Regions from separate parts of the Homo sapiens genome. Here all the other regions are linked to region 1. Evidence: promoter capture Hi-C in 16 types of primary human blood cells and fetal thymus (Javierre and others, 2016). All regions are on one chromosome and are shown on one strand. Each heading gives the region's core, a stretch centred on a gene start or on the middle of the fragment in contact. The rest is flanking DNA. Distances are from core to core; before and after follow the strand shown.

What was found. Contacts are between HindIII fragments. The CHiCAGO score rates a contact against its expected background, and 5 or more counts as called.
Region 2: a contact is called between a fragment that was not itself captured here and the fragment with the promoter of RBM26 in region 1, in 1 of 17 cell types (fetal thymus). The highest score is 5.4, in fetal thymus.
Region 3: a contact is called between a fragment that was not itself captured here and the fragment with the promoter of RBM26 in region 1, in 2 of 17 cell types (naive B cells and naive CD8 T cells). The highest score is 5.8, in naive B cells.
Region 4: a fragment that was not itself captured here is called in contact with the fragment with the promoter of RBM26 in region 1 in 2 of 17 cell types (naive CD8 T cells and naive CD4 T cells); the score reaches 6.3 in naive CD8 T cells.

Annotation. Positions count from the first base shown.
Region 1 is chr13:79,403,690-79,408,952 of GRCh38, reverse strand. It overlaps RBM26 (RNA binding motif protein 26), which reads left to right and starts at 2,698. Exons shown (of 22, transcript NM_001366735.2): 1 at 2,698-3,249. The coding sequence starts at 3,179. It overlaps RBM26-AS1 (RBM26 antisense RNA 1), which reads right to left and starts at 2,644. Exons shown (of 7, transcript NR_038991.1): 1 at 2,476-2,644. RefSeq lists enhancers at 2,413-2,712, 2,042-3,033 and a silencer at 2,943-3,142. The HindIII fragment of the contact is 7,810 bases long and covers 1,185-5,263 here.
Region 2 is chr13:80,344,697-80,349,824 of GRCh38, reverse strand. No RefSeq gene overlaps it. Among named protein-coding and RNA genes, the nearest start is that of SPRY2, 6.1 kb to the right of the region's middle. The HindIII fragment of the contact is 4,354 bases long and covers 764-5,117 here.
Region 3 is chr13:78,620,782-78,625,632 of GRCh38, reverse strand. All of the region lies in intron 5 of OBI1 (ORC ubiquitin ligase 1), which reads left to right. Among named protein-coding and RNA genes, the nearest start is that of POU4F1, 20 kb to the right of the region's middle. The HindIII fragment of the contact is 2,963 bases long and covers 2,107-4,851 here.
Region 4 is chr13:78,586,353-78,591,585 of GRCh38, reverse strand. All of the region lies in intron 3 of OBI1-AS1 (OBI1 antisense RNA 1), which reads right to left. Among named protein-coding and RNA genes, the nearest start is that of POU4F1, 15 kb to the left of the region's middle. The HindIII fragment of the contact is 462 bases long and covers 1,614-2,075 here.

The DNA.
Region 1 (5,263 bases), core at 1,449-3,948:
ATATTAGCAGCTGTTCTTGAAGCGGGGGATTCAAAGCTATAATCCACTAAAGAACAGATAATCACATACTTGCAAAAATAAAGCTATGAGTGCTATAAAAGAAGCAATCACAGGCTGATGTCAGAAAATCTCAGAGGGACTCTCGCTTTACAGAAGGGAGGTCAAAGATGGATTTCCAAAGGCGATGCTGTATGCACTGCATTTTGACGCTTAAGTAGGAATCTATCAAATGAAAGGTAGAGAAACACATTTTGCAATGGCTCAATTTAGTGAGAGGACACACTTCTGTGGAGACAAACGTTTACTCCCTCTTGAATGCTAATTTGTCATGTTGCCTTCTGATTAACCCCAGCCCTGTGATTATTACTTTATTTACTGTCCTTAGTTTAACAACAAAGCAACCCTGATGTTATCACACAAATTACAGGCTATGATGCATATAGCATTCTTGCCTGTCTGGAGGGTTGCCTTTAAATGTCTCTATAGAGTACGTACACCCTTTCCTTATGGCATGTAAGTACTGGTCTGGGGAGTAAAAGGGCAGACATCTACCTGTCTTGCTGCCACTGAAGACCATGCTTCTGTCTGTAAGTTACCCCCAACAAAACACTCTTTACTGACCAAACTGGATTTGTCTGCTTTGTTCATTTGATTTCTCCTTTGATGTTTGGGGGGCACTTTGCATAAAGGGCCTTTTCATGGAACAACTTATTTTAAGGAACTCAAAATAGTTTAGGATGGCTGGAGCAAAGACTGAAAGGAGTTTCTAGGCAAAAAGGAAGGTGTCTGATTTATGAAAGTCCCTTTATAGGATGTTAAATAATGTGTTTTATTCTAAAGATAATGTGGAAGTTGAAGATTTTAAGCAAGAAAGTGACATGATTAGATCAAAATTTTAGAATTACTGCTATTAAAGGCAATGATGATGAGGGCAACTGAAGATGAACTGAGATGGAGGTCAGCATAAAAGGCAAAGATATTAAAAGGCTTTTGCTATTATTTAGGAAGAATAAAAGACTTTAAATAAGACAGTGACAGTGGTATGAGAGATGGATGGGCAAAGTTTGAGCAGTCAGGGAAAGAAGTAGAAGCGTTCTCTGTGGAAAATAAAGTGAACAAATGTTTGGAGAAAGGGAGGGTGAGCAAATCAGTTTATCTGGGGTATACAGTATTTGATAGAAGCTTTGGAAGGCTGAAGTGGAGAGCCAGAGTAATGGAGTAGCTGGTGATAAGGTTGAAAATATTGGTGGCGTCAGCCTGTGGCAAGGCTACAACAAACAGACTAAACAAATATAATTTTAACTTTCGGCAGTATTAAATTTATAAACAATTTTTATTGTAAAATACATATAAAACCTACCGTTTTCATTAAGTATATGGTCCACTGCATTAAGTACATTCATATTGTGCAACCCACACAACACCACTCATCTCCAGAATCTAAATCATCCTAAACTGAAACTCTATTATCCACTGAAATATAACTCCTCATTTCCCCTTCTCCTGGGCACCCTCTCCACCCCTGCTCTTGCTACCATTCCACCTTCTGTCTCTAGGAGTTTTGACTACTCTAGGTACTTAATGTAAGTGGAATCATAATATTTGTCCTTTCATGTCTGGTTTATTTCACTCAGCTAAATCACTTTAATCAACACCCTGGTTATTCAGTAGCTGGATTCTAATTTGTATTCTACTCTATATGCTGTATTTTAAAACAAATGTCTTGCTTTGTAGTTCATAATCTTTCCACCTAATCCTTAAAGACACTTCACTCTAGCAAATTATAAACTCAAGAGTTCCTAAGAACAATTTAGCCTATCGGTGTCTCTCATAAAGAGCTTTTATTGATCTACTTACTGAAAATGTCTTTAGATTGTGAATATTTTCATTCCATTACAGTTCATGGAACGTAGACCCTTTGTAAAATTCCACCTAGTATCTAAATAGAACTCAAGCAGGAATCAAACTTATTTGATCACCCAGGAAAATAGTTTATTTATTTGGGTTGCTAATATGAAGACTCTCTCTTTTGATACTATATAATTTCCCGATCTGAGATAGGGCTGAATTTGCTCTAAATAAAGAGAATTTTAAAAATAACAAAACTTATCTTTAGCTGGGGGAAAGTGCAGGCTGGAAACTACCTGAGAGACGTGAAGGTTCTCTCACCTTTCCCTTGTGGGCAGCCCTCAGTCATTAGGGCTCTACCAGCAAGTCAAGTACTGTTGGACAAGACACTAATCCTCTGGCGGTCTCATTGGGCTCCATTAGACCAGCCTGTGTTTACAAACCTCGTTCACATCACAGCATACACAGAATATGATACTGGTAGGGCACTTAGGTAAACTGAGGAGGTAGTGTGCTCGGCACCTGGAACCTACGGGCCGCCTGGTGTCGCGCACGCGGGAGTGTACGCTCTCAAAGAGCGATCCATCCGGCAGGACCGTTCCAGCTGACAGGCCACGGCCGTCTTACCGGGGACGAGCTGGGGTTCCCGCTGTTTCTGAAGTCAGCGGTCTTTTCCTCCTTGTAAGAAATAAGGTCTTTATATCATAAAGGTAAGCAAAGAATAAAAAGGCACAAAGGCCGCAAGCAACGCACACACGCAAAAATCGAACTACAGCACTCGACCCGCGCATTCTCCGCCGACCTTACGTCTCTCCCAGCAGGCTCCGGGAGCCACCGCGAGACTTCATCAATTCTCGCGAGATTTACCGGCAGCCATCTTCTTGGGGGTGCTGGGAGCCGGGAAGACCCCCTGAATCGTTCCCATTGAGCTGCCCTTCGCCTTCGCTTTCTTTACTTTTGCCTTTTCGACGTAGCCAACAAGCACCTGGTCCCGAGGCTGAGAGAAGGCTCGGGTCTAAGCGCGTGTCGCGCTTCCGGTCTGGGTAGATTTGCTGGGGAAGAGGGAAGGGGGAGGGCCCGGGCAAACCGTTGCTGTTTCAGCCCGGGCTGGGGGCCGGGGACGGGGAGCTCCTGGCACCCCGTGCACTTGTGGCCTGCGGCGGTCCTTGCAGAGCTGTTCGCCGACCGGGGCCCGCGGGAACCTGCCACCGGCGCCTCCCACCGCGGCCCACGCGGGCGGCGCGCGGAGGAGGGGGCGGGGGCAGCGGCGGCTGTAGCGGCCGCGACCTGGGCGGGCGGAGGAGTGTGACGGGCCTTAGGGCCGCTGTGGATGGTTTCTAAAATGATCATTGAAAACTTCGAGGCACTCAAGTCCTGGCTCAGCAAGACTCTCGAGCCCATGTGAGTATCCGGGGGATATCTCTTTGCAGGGATGGCAGTGGGAGATAGGCGGACCCAGAGATCTGTGCAGTTTCCCCAAGTGCCTGCGGTGGAGGCCGAAGCGGTGAACGGAGGTCCCAGGGTTCTGTGGCTTCTCCTCCTCGTCCACCTCGCTTCCAGATTCAGGATACCCCCGAGAGCCTGAGTCGAGCTTTATTTTATTGCTGAGCTGCTCTCGTTTTCCCGTTATATATAGACCGTCTCCAACCCCCACCCGCAATATTTTCCGGGGGCCTCAAAATCGGTTTATTTTAGTGAAACCGACTGTATTTTACTTCCTACAGATTATTTTACCTTGTTTTTCTAAATGAAGTAGACGGCCTTTATTGGGGATTCGGGCAGTTCTAGCTTAAATCACTCACGTTTCACCTAAATATAATTCCTGAAAGCAAGGCCACGTCTCCCATGTGCTGTCTGGCTCATCTGCACCTCTCTTCACTGATTGAAGATGTAACAGGTGCTGAGGTGGCCAGTAAAATTCCCCTTTCCCGCCTACGCGTTCGTTAGCTTGGAGAGGAGGAAGAAAATTGAATCTTCATCCATATGGAATATTTAGCAGTTTTAAGTGGGATGCTATAGATAGATTTTGTGTTGGGGGCTGCGGTTAGAGTGCTGAAATAGTCTTAGATTGGAAAATTTAAGGAGTGTTTTGACGACTTGTTAATACAAAATATGACATGGACCAAAGTGCTTAATCAGAATTGGTTGATTTACAATAATGCAATGGGGAAAATTCACGTATTTAATAAAGTTATTAGGTACCTACTGTATACTACGGGAGGCTTTGGGGATAGAGCTTTTAAATTCTAAAATCGACAAGACATAAATAAATCCAGATATTAATAGAGTTGTGACTATTGTAATAATAGAGAATCATGTAAAAGTGATTATGAGGGGGGCTATTTCACATTGGTCAAGGAAGGACTCTCAGAGAAGGTGACATTGGAGTAACATCTAAAGAGAAGGGACCATGTGTGTCAAAGTCTTGGAAAAGAACATTCCTTGCAAAAGGAAGAGCAAATGAAAGGCCCTGTAGCAGAAGTGATTGTGGTGTGTTTCAGGAAGAGAAAGGCCACTGTGGCTGGAAAGAGCCTTGTGATGAGGGAGAGGATATAAAGGCAACAAGTTGGACAAGTAGGTAGGGGCCACATCATGTATGGGAAGACGTGAGATGATTTAAAGCAGACAAGGACTGATTTAATTTTGTTTTAACTCTGCCTATTTTGTAGAGACTGAAAGGGCAAGAATGGAAGTAAGAAGATTATTCAGAAGTGTGTTGTAGGCAGAGATGTGGCTAGTTTGCATTAGAGTGATGGTGGAGACAGGCAGATCCAAATACATTTCATAAGTAAAATTAATGGATTAAATGCGGGAGATGAGGGAAAGGGAAATCAAGGGTGGTGCCTTAGATAACCCAAGCAACAGAATGGGTGATATTAGAGAAGGCAGAGAACAGGTTAAGGGGAGAAGGAAAGTGGATGGCTAGTTTTGATAATAATAAATACAGTAAGTATGAAGTCTGTGGGATACAGCTAAGTGTGATAGCAGATCATTGAATATATGAGTCTAAAACTCAGGACAGGACTGGAGAAATCTGGAGTCATGCAGATAGTATTTAAGACGATGACATTGTGGGAAATTTCATAGAAAAAGTGTGTAGGTAGGGAAGAGAAGAGGGCCTAGTACTGAGGCAGGAGGAAAACTGGGCTTTATGTCATTAAAAAACAAGTGTATGGCAAAAGAGAGGAGTTTATGAAATGCTGCAGAATGCATGAAAAAATGGAGGCAAATAGGTAGCCCTTAGATTTAGCAAAGTGGAAGTCATTGGTAACCTTAGCAAAATAGTTTCACTGGAGTAGAGTTGTGCAGATGGAAGTCCTATTTCGGTGTATTGGAGAGTGGGCATCATAGTATAGCGGTGAGGAGAACTCTGGAGCAGAATGTCTGGCTTTGAATTCTGCCTCTGCCACTTACC
Region 2 (5,128 bases), core at 1,691-4,190, 940 kb before region 1:
TAAGTTTAAAGCTTTTTGAAAGGATGGAAGCAAAACAGCTAATTTTACTAAATAAACTATCAAGCCCCATTTAACTGAAGTTATTGCAGCTACTTATTGAGAACTTCCCACATGCTAGGCTGGGTAGATACTTTATGTCATCCAATCTTCCAAGTGACCCCATGCCCCTCTTTTACAGGTGGGGACTAAGGTTAATTATTTCAGTCATTTATTCATTCATCCTTTTTTTTTTTTTTTTTTTTTTTTTTTGAGACGGAGTCTCGCTCTGTCCCCAGGCTGGAGTGCAGTGGCGCGATCTCAGCTCACTGCAAGTTCCGCCTCCCAGGTGCATGCTATTCTCCTGCCTCAGCCTCCAGAGTAGCTGGGACTACAGGCGCCTGCCACCACGCCCAGATAATTTTTTGTATTTTTAGTAGAGACGGGGTTTCACCATGTTAGCCAGGATGGTCTCAATCTCCTGACCTCGTGATTCGCCCGCCTCGGCCTCCCAAAGTGCTGGGATTACAGGCGTGAGCCACCGCGCCTGGCTCATTCATCCTATTGAAAACTAATGTTTGAGCTCCCTGTATGTATTAGGCCCTTCGGTTCTGGAAATACAATGGTGGGCAAAACCAGACTTGGATTCCAGCCCTCATGGACCTTAAAATACAGTGAAAGAGACAGTTATTAATGAAACAATCACAATTACATGTATAGTTGCACCGGAGAAGGTCATGAGAAAAAAAGGTGGGATTTCACCTAGTCAGAGAAGTCAGAAAAAGCTTTCCTGAGAATATGACAACAGAGATTTGAAAGATAAGTAGGCCATCGTGGGCAACATTGTGAGAACTGTCTCTACAAAAAAAAAAAAGTTAATTAGCCAGGCATGGCGGTGGTGCATGCCTGTGGTCTCAGCTATTCAGGAGTCTGAATTAGGAGGACTGCTTGAGCCCAGAAGTTCAAGGCTGCAGTGAGCCAGGATAGGACTACTGCATTCCGGCCTGGGTGACATAGCAAGACGCGTCTAAAAAAAAAGAAAGAAAGAGAATGAAAAGAGAAAGATAAATAAGAGTTAATAAAGCAAATAAGGTTAATAAGAAAAGTGCATCAGGGAATAGCATGTAATAAGGCCCTGTTGCAGGAGAGAGGTGCTTCTGAGCAACTAAAAAGTAGCCTTCATAACTGCAGGGTAGAAAGCAAGAGAGTGTGTAAAAACAGAAAGAAAAGAGAAGAGAAGAGAACTGGTGTAACAGGAGTCTGGTGAGGGAAAACAGCCAGACCAGAGTAGGACCTTGAAGTTGTTTGAAAGACTTGGATCTTTACCCAGAAAGTAATGTGAAGCCAGGGGAGAATCTAAGCAACAGGCAATTGTGATCAGATTCACCCAAAGTGGTCTAGATTGCATCCAAATCCAGCTCTCTTGAACTACCAAAGTCTCTGGAACCTATTATGATATCAAAAGTTCAATCTTGAGCATCTTTTTCTATTAGCAACTACAGTTTAAAAAAAGAAAATAATGATTTTGAAAATCTAATTTCTTTTTCTTTTTCTTTTTCTTTCTTTTTTTTTTTTTTTTGAGACAGAGTGTCTCTCTGTCGCCTAGGCTGGAGTACAGTGGCACGATCTCGGCTCAATGCAACCTCTGCCTCCTGCATTCAAGCAATTCTGCCTCAGCCTCCCAAGTGCCTGGGACTGCAGATGTGTACCACCACGCCTGGCTAATTTTTGCATTTTTAGTAGAGACGGGGTTTCACCATGTTGGCCAGGCTGGTCTTGAACTCCTGACCTCAGGTGATCCATCCTCCTCAGCCTCCCAAAGTGCTGGGATTACGGGCATGAAGCACTGTGCCCAGACTGAAGATCTAATTTTTAATTTTGCTCATATATTTATTTTAACACATGTTAGGATATAATGCAAGAAGGTCTCTGTGGTGTAAAATGAGGGTGAGAAGAATACTTACCAAAAGTGCAAGGGGATTTCTCACATACAACATGAACGGCAAACTGTCCACTAATTGACGGCTTCCTTGAGCTATTTTTAAAATGTGTTCTTGAAAGTTAACAGACTGCTAACTTCTTATTTGAAATTACAGTTTAACACTTAATTTTAATTATTAATATAGTCATATCTTTCAAAGTAAAAAGTTTACTTTTACCTACATTCTTTACCCACCCATCATCATCCTCTTTGTCATTTCTTTGTTATATAGTTTAAAACTAGATGTTCCCTACAGCTTTATTTCCAGTTACCTCACATTTCCATAAAGATTTATTTGTAATTTAATAAGTATTTAATATTTCACCTATTAAAAGTCATAGCCCTGGCCAGGCGCAGTGGCTCATGCCTGTAATCCCAGCACTTTGGGAGGCCAAGGTGGGTGGATCACTTGAGGTCAAGAGTTCAAGACCAGCCTGGCCAACATAGTGAAACCCACCTCTAGAAAAAATACAAAAATTAGCCGGACATGGTGACAGGCTAATAGGTAGCCTGTAGTCCCAGCTACTCAGGAGGCTGAGGCAAGAGAATCACTTGAACCCAGGAAGCAGAGGTTGCAGTGAGCTATGATTGTGCCACTGTAATCTAGCCTGGGCGACAAAGCAAGACTCTGTCTCAAAAAACAAAACAAAACCAAATAATCATAGCCTTAACAAACTTGTTTCAGTCACTTCCTAGTAATTATGCAAAACACAATGGTAATTTCTAGAACAGCAGAATGACTTAACTTCTGCCATTAAAGAATTCAAAAACTGTGAATTTCCTTTTACAAAATTAAGACTTTAAAATATTATCTTATTTTAATCATACTTTTTTTTTCTTTTTTTTTTTTTAGATGGAATTTCACTCTTGTTTCCCAGGCTGGAGTGCAATGGCACGATCTTGGCTTACCGCAACCTCCGCCTGCTGGGTTCTAGCGATTCTCCTGCCTCAGCCTCCTGAGTAGCTGGGATTACAGGCATGCGCCACCACGCCCAGCTAATTTTTGTATTTTTAGTACAGACGGGGTTTCACCATGTTGGTCAGGCTGGTCTCGAACTCCCGACCTTAGAGGATCCGCCCACCTTGGCCTCCCAAAGTGCTGGGATTACAGGTGTCAGCCACCACACCCGGCCTAATTATACTTCTTAATTTCATTCATTCATTGAAAAGCGTTTAGTGAGTGTCTAGTGTCTACAGAGATCGGAGTGAGTGCTTTCTTTTTTTAAGAATGAAATGCTGGGCTGGGCACAGCGGCTCACTCCTGTAAGCCACTGTAAGCTACTTTGGGAGGCTGACACAGAATGATCATTTGAGCCTAGGAATTCAGGACCAGCCTGGGCAACATAATAAGACCTCATTTCTACTAACAATTTAAAAAATTAGCCTGGCGTGGTGGCATGTTACTGTAGTCCCAGCTACTTGTGAGGCTGCGGTGGGAGGATCTCTTGAGCCAGGGAGGTCAAGGCTGCAGTGAGCCATGACCACACCACTGCACTTCCGCCTGGGTAACAGAGTGAGACCTGTCAAAGAAAAAAAAAAAAAAAAAAAAAAGAGAGAGAGAGAGCAAAAAAAAGAAAAGAAAAGAAAATGAATGAGAAGGTGAAGAATCTTCCTGTTTCAATTCCAGGTTCCAAAGAAGTCCAAGGCAGCCTTGATATATAGTCTCCAGATCCTTGGAGCAGTCTATCCTTTAAAGTTCCATCCAACACAATATGCACAAACAAAGCTGTTTCTACCTACCCCACAATATTCTCAAATGATTCTCTGTAACTTCAAAACACTTCCTGTCCAAAGGAACAAACAAACTAAATCTGCATGCAATCATAGTCCGTTTACCAAACTGAACAATTTTGGACTTGATCTGTTAGCGGAGGTTAATTCCGAGCTGGCCGGCAGCCCTGATATTGTGTGGCATCTGCACAGTAAGAATGGCTTAAGTGGAATCTGTTTAACTACATCTTTCTTAGAGAACAGGTTGAACTTCCTATGCCCTTTTGACCAAGTGTCCACATAATAGGAAGTATAAAAGCAAAACCCTCCAACTATTCCGGGGCTAAAATCTTCCAACTGCTACTAATCTTGGCCAGTAATATCCAAATACTAATTTCAATTAATGATTTTTGCTTATATGATCCAGAACATAGGGGATCAAATGTTAAAAACAAACAAAAACAAATAAACCCAGGGCTATTCAGGGAAATGCAGTGAAAGAATGCAATGTCCTCACTGATTAGGTTTTCTCTGCACATATCAGTCCTACAAAGAAGTTTAATCTTCAAACCAAAGGATAGATAAATTGAAAAAAATAATGAGAAAAATCGTGTTGGCCAGCAGAGAAATTCTGTTTCTGCCTTGTTATAGAACTTCAGTTCACATCAGACCTTGCATAAACTGTAGTCATAATGTGCATGCATCTCACAGGAGTATTCATTAATTAACCAGTAAAAATCACCAGGTGGATCCCAGTTGAATACAAGGCCTCCGGAAAAAACCAGACCCGCAGGAGCCTGGAGCTCAAGGTCGACTCTGCAACACCACCCCTCTTACCCTGAGAGAACCCCAGAGCTTTCCCCCAGTTTAGTTAGGGATAAAGAATATATCTCCAAAGAAGGTTAGATCCAGAGATAACTGTTTCCAGTCCTTCAAGCAATCTAGATAAGAACTCAAGTGGTCTATTTTGAATTCCTTTGCATCTTTTGTTACAGCCACTCCCAATTCCCTTCTAGAGGCATTATCAACAGAATTTGGGAAATTCAAAAGTGAAATGACTAGAGTCACAGTTGTCAAAACAAAAGGTCCATCATTACAAAACCCTTTGTCTCAGGAAGGTCCCTGAAGAGGCCATGCATAGACTAATTTTACTATTGCAACTGGGCTGTTAGGAGAGATAATGGTTGAAAGCCCCAAATTGTTAGTCGTGGAAGCAGCACACACTGTTACATTCTGTGCCATCTTCAAATAGATTGCCTTGGTAATAGAACTAACAAACTAACCAAATAGCTATTCATTCTTCTTTTTCTCAAGAATGTGTGATATCATTGCAAGATATCAGTACTAGGACTAAACCTATTAAGGCCAAGTGGTTTGTGCAATCCCGGAAAAACGAGCTACGGTTGCTAAAAGATGCACTCTCCCGTTACTACAACATAAATTCAAAGCTTACACCAGCCA
Region 3 (4,851 bases), core at 2,339-4,838, 780 kb after region 1:
TTGTCTTTATTGTATTGATAAGGTACTTGGGGAGGCGGCAGTGCATGCTAATGACTAAGCAGTAAGGTTGTCAGAGAGATTATGAACTGTTTGAGAAGAGGAATGATCACTTCTACTTCCTTTGTTTTCCTTCTTCATAGCCCCTGAGCACACATTAGTCCTCAATAACTGTCATCTGAGTAATAATTACAGGGTATCTAGATCAGTTTTTTGTTGTGTTTCGTTTTCTTTTAGATTTTGTTTCATGCTGAGAGAGAATAAGAGATCATTTAGTTAAGGTGGAAAATGTATAGACAGGTAGATACTAATCCAGAGATTTTTAAGTATATTTTTTATCACTCAACAGTAGTTGCACTCTTTTACAGTATTGAGATTTTGTTGTTAAGGTTATTTTATTTTGGGAAAAGATGTAAGTCCTTTAATTTCTCTTAGAAATAAAAAGATATGAAATAGCATGTCTTAATTTTCTCTCCTTTCCATGACAGATTAGGATCCCTGTTAATGTCCTGCAAATTTCAAGGCTGATCTTGGTTGGTTGAAGGGAGCAGAGGGGAGAAAATGAGGGCATTTCTGCATGGAATCAAAATGAGATATATTTGTCAAATAGAATAGAATTTATTCCACAGTAAAAAGAGTAGTCTGTCCTCACAGGCAATGCAGAGAAAGTAGTACTTAGAGTTAGGCATCCTGTTTTGGGCAACTTTGCCCAGTGTGCTGCCCAGAGAGAAGGAAAGAAACCTTGGAAATGGAGGCTAACTAGTTGCAGTTTCCAAACAGAAGGCCAGAGACCATGTTCCAATTGCCACAGAAGCAAGTAGGGTGAAATTGGCCAGCATGGAACACAGTTTAGTTCTGTATTTCTCCTTATCCACCTGCTGACCCAATACTATGTGGGTCAGCCCTTAGAGGTTTACCACAAAAGGGAGCTGTCTGTTCCTCTTCAGTTCACATATGCTGTTCAACACTCAGGTCATTTTTATTAATTTCTAAGGCATCTCAGAATTTTCACCACAGTTTTTTAACTACAAATGCATAGTTGGTTTAATAAGATAAACACACAAAGAATTTCCTTTAAAATTTTGTTCTGCAGTGAGCCGTGATCATGCCACTGTACTCCAGTCCTCCAGTCTGGGTGACAGGATGAGATCCTGTCTCAAAAATAAATGAATAATATAGTGTTAATAATATAAGCTATTAATTATTAACCCTGCTCTTCATTTGAAAACTTGAAAAGCAAACTCTACTTTGATTTTTAAATGGTACTTTTAGAAGATGGAGGGATAAGGAATTACTGCAAGGGCATAATTCTTTGTCTTGTTCCCCTGTCTTTATCAACTTTGTCTTTAAGGGTGAAATTCTGGCATTTTTTATTCTTGCAAATATTGGAACACTTTCTGTTTTGTGATAAAACTAAGATGCAACATAACGTAGCTTGTATTTTTTTATTTCTCTTAATTATACCCTGAGAAATAACCCATGTGATGTTTAGGCCTTAAAATTTTGCATTTAGTTTTTCTCATTTCATATAAAAAACATCTTTTACTTGTAGTTGAAGATACCTGCTGATTGTGCATGAACCAGGCAAGTTTATCATACATACTTTCTATACATAGCACATTTAAGTATTATGCTTTCAGCTCTGTTTCAAACTTAGTCTTTATATCTCTGGTTAAATATTTGGGTTGGCATTTACCAGGGTGGTCTGTCAATGCTGTACTTTCATGCAAGGCCACTTTAATAAATGATCTTTTAAAATTTCAAAATATTACTGGATTTATGCCTAAAATATGGTGGTGGTTTGATAAATGTTTACTGAATTTGTGCATACATACTATATGTCTTCCTACAATTTTTGTATTTCCTCTGTGTTTCTATTAGCCAATGTATGTACCAATAAATAGCACAAGAATCCTAGTTCATTGACTCTGTATACACATTTTGCCTAGAAAAATCTAGTCTACATTTTGATATGAAATATAAATAGGTACTGATATTATTTAAGAAGGGCCTTATGTTCAAGTATTTAATACGATTTCAAACATGGTGTATGGGTTCAGAAGGACTTGGATTCAAATCCTATTCCTGCTGCTAAGCCCCTTTTAAGCTTCTCATTTCTCATTTTTAAAATAAGAATAATGAATCTTGCTTCATAAAGTTGATATGAGGATTAAATGAGATAATATATATCAAGCATATAGCACTGTGCTTGATGCCAAGTAAACAATGAATTGTGGCAGCTGCTTTTCTTTTTGTCATCATCATTGTCAATAGTAGTCAGTTATGCAGTGTTAAAGATGTATTTGTTACACTTACTTTCGGTAAATTCCAGCCAAAAGTTCACTTTCCTTTTTTTTTTTTTTTTAAATGTTCTCTTTCAGTATATCTCATTTAACATTTTTGTGGAACCAACGCGTGTGACTAGGATTGACCATAGATAGTACTTTTATGATTAACAAATTTCTAGGAATGTAGCAATTTTGTAACTGACAGCTTAATTTTAAAAAGAGAAAACTCTCTTGAGGAAACATTGGCAAATTATATAGCTCAGCAACAGTATAAATGTATGGGTTGCTTCCCAAAACTTCCCTAGTAGTTTAAAGACAGAATGTTTCCTCTCTACCCTCCCAACACATATACAAGGATGGGTAATGCACAAATGATCCATAGGAAGCAGGTGAGAGAAAAGAGATGCCAGAGGCTTTGAACCTTCTCCCCCACCACCTAACACAGTTTTGGGTTTCCTACAGCTCTGGTCCTCCCTGTCCGCTTTTCCTAAATTGTGCCCCACCCACCCTGCACACATGTACACAAGATAGATACCAGTACCAGGACCTTTTCATTTTTCTTCTCACTTCTGTCAAAACTCGGATTTCTATAGAGCTCCTGTTAAGGCTACTCACTTATTAAGTGTAATCAAAAAGAGGAGTTAGGAAACTCAGAGAATCTGAAACTGGTAGATTGTGTGTTGGGAGATATAATTAAGAAAGGAAAGGGCAAATGGAAAGCTCTTCTCTCTGAAACCTTAGCTCCCTGTGTTTAAAATAGAAAAGATACTTTCCTAATATTTCTGAAATTTAGGAAATGAGAAGCTACTATGGCTATGTAGACAGGCAAGTCCACAATAAAATCCATTCTATGAATGGATCATTCTTTCTCAGATTAAGTGGCAGTTCTTTAAAGAAAAATATTTGAGACACATAAATTTATTTGGTTTTGTCCCATATCAACCATTACTTTATGAAGCCCACTTGCAGCCTTGATTTCCCAGGCTCAAGCGATCCTCCAGCTTCAGCCTCCTGAGTAGTTGGGACTACAGGCGCATGCTTCTGTGCCTGATATATATTTTTTTTTTTGGAGAGACATGATCTCATTATGTCGCCTAGGCTGGTCTTGAACTGCTGAGCTGAAGCCATCCTCCTGCCTCACCTCCCAAAGCATTGGAATTACAGGCATGAGCCATGGACCAAAGCAGTCTTAGTAATTAATGGGAAAAATCACAATTGTTTGATGACCTTTAGCAACTTTGTCAAAACATTTAACTCTTATTATCAATTACATATGTATATGGATAGGCAAGAACAGTAAAAGTAATATTTAGTACATTGATATTTATGTAGTACAATTTGAAACATGAGAAATATTGAGAATTCGTGGTTTTTTTGTGAAAAACTTCTGGAGAATAATTTGAATAGTGCTTCCCTTCTCATATAATTTATGATATGAAGCTAGCATCATTTCTGATACCTTGATGAATTTTCACACTCCTAAGTTTGCATCAACTTCCAGCATTTTATCGTTTGCTCTCAATATCGTGAAAGAGCTCCACATTGCTTTAGTGCGAAGTGTTTTGTCAGCCTGTCATTTTCTCTAGACATCTTCATCCTTTTCACCACCACTTTTCTCATCCATGTCAATAAGTTTGCCTCTACAAAGTGCTTCTGGCATATCTAGAATTTCTTGAATGGACTGACATTGTTGTAATATTCCCACAGTCAGTGATTTCTTCCATAACTACATTTACATTTGATTTCAATTTCACTTCCAATGTTATCATTGTTTATTTCTTTGTTACACCTTCATCTTTGTTGACCAGTTCTGTCGTTTTATTAACTGTTTTTGTGAAATGTCATGCGGGTTTTTTACTGGGAGACAAGGAGCAGCCCAGCTGCACACTTTGCTGTCTGTATGTTAACTGAAAAACAGGTAAATGCACAGTGACTAATCACTGACTGACCTTGAAAGAAGTGACTTGATGGGTCACTGATCATGAAGCACGTCTATTATTTATGTAGTGTTTTTTGAACTGAAAAGCTAGAAGTGAAGGTTTTACTTCATGCAGTTACTCATTAATAATGGTGTGGTAACTGAAATTTGAACCATATTGTTGGGTGACTTGTAAATTAAACCATGGTAACTGAAATTTGTGCATATTGGAACCATATAAAGCAAGGATATCAACACTGAAAACCTGTCAGATAGGCCACACCACAAAAGCTGGTCCAGGTCCAAAGATAGCTTTCGCTTTGTTTCATTACCTCAGCTACCAAGTGAGGGAAACATATAAAGTCAAAGTTTGATGAGGCAAGTGGACTGACTTCCCCAATGTCCCCCTTGTTCCTCCTCAAGAAGGCATTTCTGAATTTTGGCAGTCTTGGCCACCCACTGGGCTTGCTGCATTTACCCATTTTGTTGGAATTGCCATTGAGAACCAGAAAGGCAAAGTGAATTGCTCAAGGATAGTAGCGTAGCACTAGAGCTTATTAGTTTTTTGGTACTCAGGTGTGGTATTCTTTTACCACATTTGTTTTCTTCAAACACGTCCTGTTTTTCTGTGTGATAGACTATGAGAAA
Region 4 (5,233 bases), core at 595-3,094, 820 kb after region 1:
AATTCAAGCATATTTACTTATTGTTATAATTGGCAGTAAGTGATGATGGGCCACAAGAATACTTTTTAAGTTTAAAAATCTATAATTATTGATAGCATTTAAGAAAGAATACCCTTGAAAATGACTTTTTAATATTGTCATAATTAGTAGGCTTACACTGCAGTAGTTAATTTGTAAGATAATAGAATTATTGAAAAGTTTATTGACCTTAGATTTAAAAAATACATATGTAAATGTTGACTACTTATATATATTGAGAACACAGATTATTCACTCACCCCATACGCCCTGTGTCATTAACAAAGACTGATAGTGCTCTATTGTATTGGATATGTAAAAGAGACAGGCAGCAGAATGTTTTTATGATTCAAAAATACATTAAAGAAGATAATTGTGTTAGAAAGTGCAAGATTACTTGAAAAAAGATAACTGTGAAATTGTACTCAATAAGAAACAAAAATTATATAGTGCGATCTATTACAATATTTACAGTATAAAAGTGGAGTACTTTGTACTATGTATTAGATGGGAGGTATTAAATATTCTTTATTTTCACAAGGGAACCTGTCTGTCTTTATATAGAAGTAAGTGCTCAGTTACAGGGACAGGTTAATATTGAGAGGTGTTTTTAATTAAAAACACCACTGCTTTTGGCTAGTAAATTATCTGTGACTCTTTTAGTAAAAAAAAAAAAAAAAAAAAAAGATTTTAAAAATAGAAAATTGTGTTGTAGAGAACTGTAGTCAATCTGTAAATATGACAGATTCTAAAAGTCAATCTGTAAATATGACAGATTCTAAAGCACTATATTTCATCCAGGAGATGATGAATACATGAAGAAAGAATCATCCTGAATTTCAACAGTAGCAGGTAGGGAGAAACACTTATTATCTTTAAATTTTGGTGCATGCCATTAGCCTTCATTTCTTTCCCTGTAGTTAAAAGGTAGCCCATATATCTGTCGCTTTGGGTTTCCAAAGACTCATAACTTAATTCCTTCAGGCTATTCATCAGCACAGTAATTAAACTAGCAAATGGATGTAAATAAAGTGAAATTGGTTTCATGACAGATGAGGCGAAGAGGCCTCTGACATGAAACAAGGCAGGACAATAATGATTTCAGCAGCATCAGGCCATGGAAGGAACCCCAGCTGGATTTATTAGGTGCTGCAAGTGATTTGCTAGAAGCGGGCAAGACATGAGCACTCTTTAATTTGACAGGAATTTTGCATCCTAAAGAGCATATTGAAATATAAATTCAGAAACAAGTTCAGGCAAACTGTAAACAGATGTATTGTTAGACTGAAGATACTACTCAGTATTTTAAAAGGAAGAAGAAAAGAGAACGACATCCCCCTCCCTAATAGAAGAGCTTCATTTTCACAATTTATTATTTAATTGTGGGTAGTGGCAAAATAATTATGAAACATTTCGTTCTACTTAGTGAATTCTGTTACTATTAGATGGTTAGTAATTTTGGATGTCCAGGTTTATTTATCAGGAGAGCAACCAAAGCAATAGATGATTTAGAACCCAGCACAAGTAAAACATTTGTACAAATTAGCAGTACATGCATACATGGGAGAGATATATGGCAAACTGGGAGAGAAGCTTGGATGGACAACTTATTTTACAGAGTGGGATTATTATTGTATTTAAATAAAATCTAGGATAAAAATCTGGCACCACTTTATTGCCTCTAGCGGTTTGTGCCTGGATACCCAAAGAACAAATTTCTATCTGCAAAGAGAAATTGTTTCAAGCCCTTGATCAGATGAATTCTTAAAATGAAATATAGATTTGTCCCTGCAAAATAAGCAGTTCCATGAACTAGAGGGAACCAAACTATAACTGAAAAATCACAGAATAAGAGAAGAAGGTGTAAGGAATGGATTCTTGGCTGGCTCCACAAGAGTCAAATGAAAATTGAGTCACTATTCCACTACAATAAGGAAGTTACACATAGAATAAATAAAAGGCAGATTTTCACACTAGGAGCAGATCAGTCCCTTTCTCCATGAAAAGATGAGAAATGAACTGCTTTATGTTTAAATGTAGTCTCAATTATTTAAGCTTCCTTTCATGAAGAGCAAAGATAAGTAACTCCTCCAAATCCTCCATTAGTGGTGCCCTCCCTTTTCACAAGAGTCACGCAAGGTTTTCAGCACCGCGGCCAGCTCCAGGGAGGGTCAAGGGGAGAGCGGGCGGGAGAGCAGCTATTGACCCAGGAGAGGTGAAACCTAAATACTCCTAAAAATCTACCGGCGATTTAATTATTTAGCAGTGGATTCTGATCTTCTGTGGGATACTAAATAAAGCCTAAGTCCTCAAATATTTTAGAAAGTGATGTTTCATAGGAAAGTGAGGAAGAGGCATGGGGGCATGGTGGGGGCTGGGGTAGAGAAAGAGCAGGTTATCAAAATTCTTAATGAAAATAAAACCTGAAAAAGGGAGAGAGAAAGAAAAACACCCACTGAATGCTACCTCCCTTCTAATGGTGGGTGACTTTCAGGCCAAGAAGGAATTTATTATGAAACTCAACTGGTTTTCTCCTTGAGCCTGCTCTTTAAAAAAAAAAAAAAAAAAAAAAAAAAACAGGAAAATATGCCTAATTATTTTAAAGTTCCTTTCCAATCGCAAGGCATAGCTAAGTCCTTTAATTATAATACAGTATGAATAGGGGGAGCATATGGAGGAGAATGTCAAGAAGAGGGTGCCAGGGGCAGATCCTCAGAAATCTGTATTCATTTCTGGCTCTTATTTGTTCAGTAATCTCTACCATCATAACTAAATCTTGAACCACTGATGTAGTTCGAGTTGTTGTTGACTTAACGTCAAAATTCAATCACTGGGGGTTTTGCATCAGCCGGGCTACTTATTTGTCTAATAAATCCGTCATTTTGTAAGAAAAATATTTGAGCAGCCGTACTTGACCTCTTGGTATCCACAAGTCACATTTATTTCTCCCAGTTTACAAATGCAAAATCGAGATGAACGTCTAATGCCTGGAGGAACTGTGTTGATTTCAGATTGGATTTTAGATGGAAATGTCTATTTTAAATACCTTGTGATTAAATTGTACATATAATAGGATCCATGCATTTTTAACTGGTTCCTGCTTGGAAACTTAACAACCTGGACTGCAAATCACACATACCAATGCCAAAAGGAAAACACACACACACACACACACACACACACACACACAACCGAACCCACCCACTTTTCTCAGACAAATACTAAAATTTAGCCTCAAATGCAAGACTTTATTAAAACAAGAGTTTTTTTTAAAAAAAATAATTCTTCTATTAATGGATTCTCCAACCTTGCCCCGAAAATATTCTAATTCCTGGAGGGTAAGGCTTCAGCCCAATCCCAGGAACAGCACACACAGAATTCATGCAGTCTTGAGTCTACAACCAAACTGTAACTCAAGTCTAATGAAATCCATATCACCATCTCTGAGTATTATTAGTTAAGGAAAAAAATGTGTTATATTTTATTGAATTAATTTTATTCTCCAGTCTAGAAGCCTGTTTGGATATTGCTTGAAAATATTCTATTGCTTCTCTCCTACTCCTTCTCCTTCAAGAATCTTTTTAGTGCAAAAATCTCTCCACAGCTCAAGAATCTTTCTCAAATCTTTGGCGAAAGACAAAACAGTCTATTCGAGTCCATTGTAGAGTTGGGGAAAGTGAGACACTACCCATATATTATGGCAAAAGTACTTGGATAAAAAGAGACGTCTTCAGAAGGCAGACTAGAAAACTGCTTTTGCCAGTTGGCGATGGGACTGAAACAACTGGGGCCTCGGGAAGCTGGAACAACTGGAGGGAGGCTGCAGTATCTGCGAGGTGCGTCCTATGGACGCAGTCCCGCCCGCGTGGCTGGGGTGGTGGGGCGGGGATGTAGACTGGGCATACTTTGGCTGAGAGAGGAAAAGGGCCTGGCGACCTGCTCAAGTTTTGGATTCTTTTTTGCCTTCTTGCTCAGGGATGCGCGTTTGTGTGTGTGTGTGTGCGTGTGTGTGTGTGCTATTCAATAACTAGGGGATGCGTAGAGAAAGTGTTGCTGTAGCTTGTTTGTGTCTGAAACCTTCGCGATGGTCCGAACCCATATACAAGATATTTCATGCCAAAGGTGATCAATAAACAGGGAGGGTCTCTGACCCCCCGCTGCCTCCGCCCTAGCTCTGCGCTGGATTTTCTGCTCCTTGAAGTCCCGCGCAGGTTCCAGTTGAGTTTCGGTGTTCGCATGTTTTTCCTCAGACCTTTCTCTCCCATTCATTTCACGCTTGGGATCCCCGAGACCTCGAGTTTCTTTCTTTTCTTTCTTTCTTTCTTTCTTTCCTTCCTTCCTTCCTTCCTTCCTTCCTTCCTTCCTTCCTTCCTTCCTTCTTTCCTTTCTTTCTTTCTTTCTTTCTTTCTTTCTTTCTTTCTTTCTTTCTTTCTTTCTTTTTCTTTTCTTTCTTTCTTTTCTTTCTTTCTTTTTTTTTCCTGTCTTATGATTAGGGGAGTGCTCTCCCCGTGCATTTCTGAGCCTCCCCGTTTGGGCTACTCGGAGCTCGATCCCTGCGCCGCGCTCTGGCGACCCGTCTACACAGGGCAGGGCTGGCTGGTTGGCGGCGGGGAAGCTTTCGCACCCCGAGCTTGCGATGCTCCCTAATGGAGCAGTCAGCCTGATGGGCTTCTCGTCCCGGCAATGGTCCCGAGTACTCTTCTGCATGAGCTCTCTTCTCTCTAAGACCTAGAGGGGTCGCTAGTGAGCAGCACACTTGGCACTGCAGTGGCTGTCTGGGGCTTTTCGCAGACTTCCTGCCTCTACTTGCTTAGAGCGTGCACGCCCATAGTGTTAGTGACCAGTCCTTACAGGGAGGATGCTGGGTTCCGGGAAACTATACCTTATAATAACCATTCCTGTACCTTTCTCATAAACATGTCACTTCCATTTCCAAGCCTGCCCTCCTAAATTTAATTACTTCAAATTTTCATTTTCCCTTCGTAGGACCTTAAGGCATTTAACACATTCAGAGAAAGGCACCGTGGCCGGGCGGGAAGAATCCTCAATTCTAGGCTCAGCCGCCTGAGAGCAACAATCCACATAACCCTAACCCCAGTTCCAAGGCTTGTGGAGAGTGGAAGGACCAGGTTATGTTTCTGTGGGTCATGCCACAAATCTGACTGGATGTATAGTTCAGGTATGAGAAGGTGAAGGAATAATTCTTTAGTATGTG